3 separate regions of the Homo sapiens genome follow, and all the other regions are linked to region 1. The links are contacts of gene promoters, found by promoter capture Hi-C in blood cells and fetal thymus (Javierre and others, 2016). All regions are on one chromosome and are shown on one strand. The core of a region is centred on a gene start or on the middle of the fragment in contact, and the rest is flanking DNA. Distances in the headings are between cores, read along the strand shown.

Region 1 (2,599 bases), core at 67-2,566:
GTGCTGAACTGGACACATGGAATCTGGACGAGGTTGGAATTATCACAGGAGAAAAATGAGGATGTGTGTGCAAAATGGTGTGGACAGAATAAAAGCCTGCAGGCAGGAGGCAGAGACAGCCTCCCCGGTTAGATTGCTAACCTCTGAGAACGGGAACTGTGCCTTATTCATCTCTGCGCAGTAAAGTTTTTTTAAATGAATGGGATGAATGAGTACAGATCAGTCAATGTGTCAGGTCTAACCTGAACTACAAAATTCATATTTAGGAGCATGGTAAGTAAGACGTTATCCAGGACTGTTGAGCTAGGTACAGAGACCACTGCCAAGGGGGCTTGCAGTGGGGAGAGAGGTCAGGCTCAACTCCCAATACAGCAAGGGCAAGTGGGTGGGGTCAGTGAATGGAAAATTAATAGGAGAAAACATCAGGGATGTGGGCGGTTCTGGCTAAACCGACCTGACAGGGTTCTTGCTGAAGAGAGGCTGGAGATATCAGACAGCACCTGGGGGACGAGGAACCTGACCAGACGTCCAGGGTGATCTGATATTGAGGCTGGGAGTTCTTGCTAAACTCACTTATCAAGGCTCTTCGCTAAAACTGGATTTTACAAGGAAGTGTACAGATGATGTAGAAGGTTCAGGAGCCTGCTTAAGTTTGGCCAAGCAAAGACTCTTTGTCACACCCCACAGAAAATGAGTCTGCCTGGCATCACCTGCACCAAGGGCGGCTTCCCTCCCCTCTGGGTGCCCCGCAAACCTAGGCTTCGCAGGAACAGTGACTCTCTGATCTGCGTGTGAATTAGAAAGACCTAGGCTTGTTAAAGCCAAGTTCTTTGGAGAGCCTCCGTTCTACAGCAGTGCAGTGCAAAAGAAATATCACAGCAGCCATGTAGGCAATTTAAAATTCTATCTTAAAAAGGTTAAAAGAAACAGGTGAAATTAATTTTAATGACATATTTTTCTTAACTCAATAGATACAAAATATTATTTCAACATGTAATCAATATGAAAACATTATCGAGATGCCTTACATTCCTTTTTCCCGTTACTTCTTTGGGATCCAGCGTGTATTTTACCTTTAGAACCCATGAGGTCCCACGTGGTGAGTGCCCCGGGTGGGAACCGCCTGCAGCTCGGGGAGGAACGAAGCTACCAGAGAACTACAGCTCCCGGCATGCTCCGGGCGCGCCCCGTGACGCACTTCCTTTGCGGTGGCCACAGCGCGCCCCCGGCGGCGGGAGCGAGGCGCCTGTCCGAGAACCACATCTCCCGGCATGCGCCAGACGCGCCCGTGACGCACTTCCGGTGCGGCCGCGACGGCGCGCCCCCGGCGGCTGCTGCGGCGGCGGGAGCGAGGCGACCGCTGAGGCCGCGGAGAGTGACGGCGGCCCGGCCGACGGGAGCCGGGGCGGGGCGGCGGCCCAGCGAAGGAGCGCGCGGGCGGTCTGGCCCCGCCCCCTCCCCGCCCGCCTTCCCGGTGACCTTCAGGGGCCCGGGTGGCGGGCGCAGGCCCCTGCGGCGGCGGCGGGATGTTCGTGCAGGAGGAGAAGATCTTCGCGGGCAAGGTGCTGCGGCTGCACATCTGCGCGTCCGACGGCGCCGAGTGGCTGGAGGAGGCCACCGAGGACACCTCGGTGGAGAAGCTCAAGGAGCGCTGCCTCAAGCACGTAAGGCCGGGCCCCCTCCCCTGCCCCCAACACCCGCTCCGGACCCCTCCGACTGCGGACCCCGCCTCAGTCCCCGAACCGCCCCGACCTGGGGTCCGCCGCCCAGTCCGCAGCTCCCAGGCCCTCTCCTCCGGGGGTGGAGGCAGCGCCTCCTGCCCGTTTGCCCGACTCTCCCCCTTTCGGATCCCACACCTCTGGACGCTCGTCCCGGGCCTGGCCTTTCGGCCGGCGGACTCCGGTCACTAAGCGCTCGCCCCGTGCCAGCCGCCCGGCCGAGCCCTGTACACGCCAGCCTCTCAGTTAACTCTGCAGCCACGCAGGGAGGTAGGGGCAGATCGGGAAACTGAGGCCTGGAGAGTGAAGTCGCCGACGGAGCAGGGCCTCGGGACTTTCCGGCAGTTGTACCTTTTTGCTGTTGGGGTGAGGTTTTTTTTCAGCAGCATCTTTGAGAGCTGAGAATTAACGTAGGCTCCTTCATGAAGAGGCCCCTTCTCCTTCCTCTTCCCCTTTCCCGCAGAGCCGGCTGCTTGGAGCTCTTTTCCTGGCTGGCCCCAGGCCACTGTGCCTTTTAGCTGGAGTCCCTGAAATAGTGCCGCTGCGGGACAAGGCCCTGCGCCCCTGCTTTTCTGCAGAGGTAAAATTGGTCAAGAGAGAAGTCCCAGGAGTAGGGTCTCCTCGCGGAGACACTTTTTAAAGTTTATTCACCTGAAATACTCCTGTGTATTTAGTTCCTTAGGTTGCTGATTTTTGGAACTAGTTCTCGAGTCTCTAAAGGACTCAGTAAGGTCAGCTAAGAAGCCTGTCTGTGTGTCAGACTGACCTCCTGTCTATACCTGACATGATCTGAGGGCTTGGCAGAATTTAGGTTGAAGGAGGCTGCAATTTTCTAGTGGCGACTCCATGTGATAAGTTACGACGTATCTGTGTTGACAGGT
Region 2 (2,599 bases), core at 65-2,564, 1.9 Mb after region 1:
CAATGGTGCAATCTCAGCTCACTGCAACCTCCGCCTCCCAGGTTCAAGTGATTCTCCTGCCTCAGCCTCCCGAGTAGCTAGGGTTACAGGCATGTGCCACCATGCCTGGCTCATTTTGTATTTTTAGTGGAGACAGGGTTTCACTATGTTGATCAGGCTGGTCTCAAACTCCTGACCTCGTGATCCACCCGCCTCAGACTCCCAAAGTGCTAGGATTACAGGCATAAGCCACCGCACCTGGCTGCACAAAAGGTTTTTAAGGGTGAATGAGTGCCTGCCCATCTCCTTTCCTATCTGTCCTAAAACATTTAATTAGCTGTCTTTCAGTCTTTTGGCTCTAAGTCTCTTGGCCATAGGGATCCCACCAAGGGACAAGATGGACCCAGTGCAGGTAGCACACAGCCCCAGCAACGATATAGGACAAAATAAAAGTTTGGTCATCAATGCCATCTCTGGCAAATCTTGGCCAAAAGAAGGGAATATAAACTAAAAATAAAATCCTAAACTCCTCACTGACTGAACGGATCCCCTCTTGGCCAAGGGGACCTCAGAAAAAACTTAAAACTGAGTTCCCAGCCACGATGGGATAGGAGAGCCCACTCATGTCGTTATAACTCCTCCCTTTGGTGACTTAGAGACAAGGCACTAGCATTTGCGTTAAAATATGTAAGACTGAAAACATAGAAGACTGAAAAACAGACTCTTTATGGCGATAACATACCAAATTATAAATAAGACCTGTGGCTGGGCATGGTGACTCACATCTGTAATCCCAGCACTTTGAGAGTCCAAGGCGGGCAGATCACTTGAGGCTGAGAGTTCGAGACCAGCCTGGCCAACATGGTGAACCCCCATCTCTACAAAAAATACAAAAATTAGCTGGACATAGTGGCGCATGCCTGTAATCCCAGCTACTTGGGAGGCTGAGGCAGGAAAACCACTTGAACCCAGGAGGTGGAGGTTGCAGTGAGCCAAGATGGCACAACTGCACTCCAGTCTGGGTGACAAAGTGAGACTCTGATTCCAAAAATAAATAAATTAATTAATTAATAAGATTTAGGGCCATGCCAGGCACAAGTTAAGTCCTACACCTCTACAATTAAAGAATAAACTCTATTCTCACTGCCACGAGGTTGTTCCTTTTCTCTAGCAGCTAAGTAAGTACTGACCTCAAGATAAACAATGTTAAAACGATTTGCAGCTCATCCAGCTCCAGATGCTAACTGACCCCATTCACCCACCATAACTAGCTTTCTCTTCTTTTGAAACAGCGTCTCACTCTGTCCTCCAGGCTAGAGTGCAGTGGTGCAATCCTGGCTGAGTGCAGCTTCAACCTCCCAGCCTCAAGCAATCCTCCCACCTCAGCCTCCCAAGTAGCTGGGCCTACAGGTGTGCACCACTAGGTGTACCAGTAGGTCCACCCGGGAGGTGGAGTTTGCACCCAGCTACTTTTTGTATTTTTGGTAGAGATGGGGTTTTGCCATGTTGCCTAGGCTGATCTCAAATTCCTGGGCTTAAACAATCCTCCCATCGTGGCCTCCCAAAGTGCTGGGACTACAGGTGTGAGCCACTATGCCCAGCCAACTACAGCTTTCATTGAACAAGAGACTGATTTCAGCAACTTTCTCCAGGTAAGACCACTGACTATGGATTGGTTCCGGCTGGTTCAGAGAGGCTGCATACTTGTGTGCTTTTGTGTCCTGGAAAGACCTTTTTACTATAAGGCCTAATTTTATTTTATGTATGTATATATTTTTATTTATTTGAGACGGAGTCTCCCACTATTGCCCAGGCTGGAGTGCTGTGGTGCCATCTCGGCTCACTGCAACCTCCGCCTCCTGGGTTCAAGTGATTCTCCTGCCTCAGCCTCCCAAGTAGCTAAGACTACAGGTGTGCACCACGGTGCCCAGCTAGTTTTTTTTTTATTTTTAGTAGAGACTGGGTTTCACCGTATTGGCCAGACCTCAGCCTCCCAAAGTGCTGGGATTACAGGCGCGAGCCACTGCACCCAGCCTATAAGGCCTAATTTTAGTACATTTTGATGCTAAGTCTCCACCCCAAGGTGAACATGAGTTGTATGTTACATGCATGTTTGTTCAGTATGCATGTTGTCAGGACCTTCATGAATATTCATAGCTCCTCCTATAACCTGTTGAATGTGTATGTTTAGCCAACCTGTTCAGCATGGAGCTCCTGCCCCAACCCCTCCTCCTTCAGAGGCACATTTTCCAGCCTGTGGGATGGCCACCTTGCTGGCTGTAACCCTTTATGAGAAAGAAAGTCACCCAGGCGCAGTGGCTCACACCTGTAGTCCCAGCAATTTGGGAGGCCAAGGCGGGCAGATCACTTAAACTCAGGAGTTCAAGACCAGCCTGGCCAACATGGCAAAACCCCATTTCTACAAAAAGTACCTGGGCATGGTGAAAGGCACCTATAGTCCCAGCTACCTGGGAGGCTGAGGCAGGAGGGTTGCTTGAGCCCAGGAGGCAGCGGTCGCAGCGAGTCATGATTGCATCACTGTACTCCAGCCTGGGCAACAGAGTATTTATGGATATTGTGGGGTTCTTTTTTCAATTAACAGTACAAATTCAGGAGAATC
Region 3 (2,599 bases), core at 56-2,555, 1.3 Mb before region 1:
GCCCCACACCCTAACTCCAGTGCTAAGGTTCGGTCTCCACGCGGCTCATGTGGGAGAAGTCAGCACAGAGCTCACCATGGACAGCACTTGGGCAGGCAGCACAGGAAGCTCCCGGAGCTAGGCGGCCACCGGAACTTCCACTAACCAAGGGCATGAGAGTGGGCGGACGGTCCACGCCATCAGGGTTAGGGTTAGGGCCCTACCTTGGGCAGGTGCTTCATGACGCACATCACCACGGGCTGCAGGGACGGCATCTTCACCAGAGAAAAGCTCTTCTCCAGAAGGTCTTCCAGCTTCTTGTACCTGGAACAACTCACAGGATTGATGGTGCAGCGATGCGCCAAATCGCAGCAGCTACCTGCCTGTCCCTACACAGATAACAGCTACCAGGACAAGCCTCCACGCCCAGGACACATGGGTCAAGGGGTCACTCAGACACAGGCCCAGGCCACCTCTGGGAGCAAGGATGTGGAGCCAAAAGGACAATAAATGCCCCTGAGTCGATCCAAGGCTGAGAGGCCGGCTGCACATCTCACCTGCCCACCCCTCCCGCTGACCCACCTTTCCTCAGCCTTCCCCTCCGAAGCGATGGCTGACACTCGCTCCAGCAGCTTGTCCCGCAGCTCATCGAATACCGACTGGTGGAACTCCAGCCGCGGCGTCCCGTGCAGGTCCAAGAAGGGGAGGGCTGACTGAAGAGATGGCAGCAGCACACCATTCTCTGTCTGAGGAAGCCAAGAGAAACCTCAAACGCAGCCCAGTGCGCCCGGGCACCCCGAGGTCCTGAGAGCACAGGGAGGCACGCACCCAGGTGTTCCCAGCCGTGCTGGCGGTAACCGCAGCCACCGAAAGCCACCCAGCCGTCCAGCAAAGGGGTGCTGGCTCCGGACTCCACCCCCAGAACAGGACTCAGCCACCAGCAGAAAGCCGGAAAACTTCCGGCGCCTCCGCCAGGCCCGACTCCCGAGCAGGCGGCCCGGCCCTCCAACTGGGCTCCCCCCGCCCCGGGGGCCGCCCCACCTGGAACTGCTCGATGGCCTTGAGCGGCTCCGTGCAGTTGGTCAGGGTCTCCTTCAGGTCCTCGCCGTTGGCCACGCCCAGGTCCTGCAGCCCCGCGAACATGGCCGAGGCCCCGGCCACCGCCCGGCTAGGCGCCCCATCCCCAGCCCGTTCCCCCGGCGCCGCCGCAGACACCCCAGAAGCCCGCTCCGCCGGGCCTCGGGGACCGCCCGAGCCCCGCTCCCCGGCGCCCTCCAGCTCGGCCAGGTCCCGCCCGCCGCGCGACTCCGCGCGCGTCCCGCAGCCGCCCACTTCCGCCCCGCACCGCCCAGGTCCGCCCGCCAACCGGCCCCCGGGAAACGCCGCCGGGGCCGCGCGCAGGTTCCTGGGAGCAGCGCCCTCACCCGGCGCGAGAGACCCCGCCCAGCCAGCCCAGCGCGCATGCGCCCACCCGGTCCCGCCCGCGCCCGGGCTTTCTGGCAGAAGAGGGCGGGTGAGGGCGTGGGGGGCGGACTCAGGGTCCGTCTGCTCCGGGAACGGACGTCGTCGCAGCCGAGTGAATTTCGTGTACATAAGCGTGGAAAACGCTCTTGCAGATCTCGCGGCAGCCACGCGCAGCGGGGACGTTTTGCCGGGGGTTGAGCTCCCCGCCCCTCTGCCCCGCAGGGGCCGGACACAGGCGCAGACTCCCTCCTGAGCGTGGGTTCCTCCGCGTGAAACGGGCACGAAGCCCACCCCGGCGCTGTCGCCAAAACTGAGATCTGAGCGCCTTCAGGGGGCCGGGGCCTGGCGGAGACCGGGCCCGCAGCGGGAGCGCGAGCGACGGCCGCCCTCCCAGGCACCGGGAGGCTGTGGCGCCCACCGAGCTCCGCGGAGCCGTGAAGGAGAGTCCAGGTTCCACAGTGTCCCTTCTTATCCCAGGCGGGTGGGCTCCCCGGGCCTCCCCGCCTCTCCAGCCCGCCGCCCTCCCGCAGGCTGTGCCGCGCCAAGCCCCCTACACACACCCTCTCTCTTTTCGGTCTCCGCTGCTGAAATTTTCTCTAGAAATTTCTTTCCCGCTGCCCAGCAAACTCTTGCTCTTCCTTGAAGGCTTCTTCCTCCACCACCTCCTCCAGGAAGCCCTCCCTCCTCAGCCCAGCTGGAGGAGATCGCTCCATCTTTCCTGCCGCTCCCACTCCTAGCTTTGGGTCTCACCAGGGGTGCCTGGTGGTGCAGCCGTGAGCAGAGCTCCTGTTCCCACAAGCCGGGCCGAGCTCCCAAGGCCATGGCTACCACAGCTCTCTTGCCGCTGGCCAAGTTGGTCAGCCCTAGGGCGAGGGTTCCAGTGCCTTGATCCAACCCCCAGCTGGTTCGGTGGCAGAGGAGGACAAGGGTCACAGCACACACACAATCCTGAGCCTGGGATTCCTCTCTGAGAAAGGGGGTGGTGCTGAGGCCACAGAAGCAGCTGCCCAGAGCCTTTTTGAAGGGGTTGAGCTCTGGGCCTGGTCTGGGTCCTGGGTCTGGGGAGGACCTGGGGAGGTGCGGGTGACGGCACCGCAGGTAAGGCTCCTGCAAGGTGGCAGCCTTGGGGCCCGACCCTGGGTAGGAGGGCAGGCCA

Evidence for each region. Contacts are between HindIII fragments. The CHiCAGO score rates a contact against its expected background, and 5 or more counts as called.
Region 2: a contact is called between a fragment that was not itself captured here and the fragment with the promoter of UBAC1 in region 1, in 2 of 17 cell types (neutrophils and fetal thymus). The highest score is 8.8, in neutrophils.
Region 3: a contact is called between the fragment with the promoter of NELFB here and the fragment with the promoter of UBAC1 in region 1, in 2 of 17 cell types (neutrophils and naive CD8 T cells). The highest score is 10.5, in neutrophils.

The regions. Positions count from the first base shown.
Region 1 is chr9:135,960,090-135,962,688 of GRCh38, reverse strand. UBAC1 (UBA domain containing 1) reads left to right here and starts at 1,316. Exons shown (of 10, transcript NM_016172.3): 1 at 1,316-1,664. The coding sequence starts at 1,527. RefSeq lists silencers at 1,167-1,576, 1,587-1,706 and an enhancer at 1,196-1,696. The HindIII fragment of the contact is 10,703 bases long and covers 1-2,599 here.
Region 2 is chr9:134,020,317-134,022,915 of GRCh38, reverse strand. No RefSeq gene overlaps it. Among named protein-coding and RNA genes, the nearest start is that of BRD3OS, 3.9 kb to the left of the region's middle. The HindIII fragment of the contact is 3,675 bases long and covers 1-2,599 here.
Region 3 is chr9:137,254,033-137,256,631 of GRCh38, reverse strand. It overlaps NELFB (negative elongation factor complex member B), which reads right to left and starts at 1,305. Exons shown (of 13, transcript NM_015456.5): 1 at 1,021-1,305; 2 at 562-725; 3 at 204-303. The coding sequence starts at 1,266. It also overlaps a transcript of CIMIP2A not described here. RefSeq lists enhancers at 2-949, 950-1,897 and silencers at 908-967, 1,008-1,187, 1,198-1,567, 1,758-1,937. The HindIII fragment of the contact is 15,726 bases long and covers 1-2,599 here.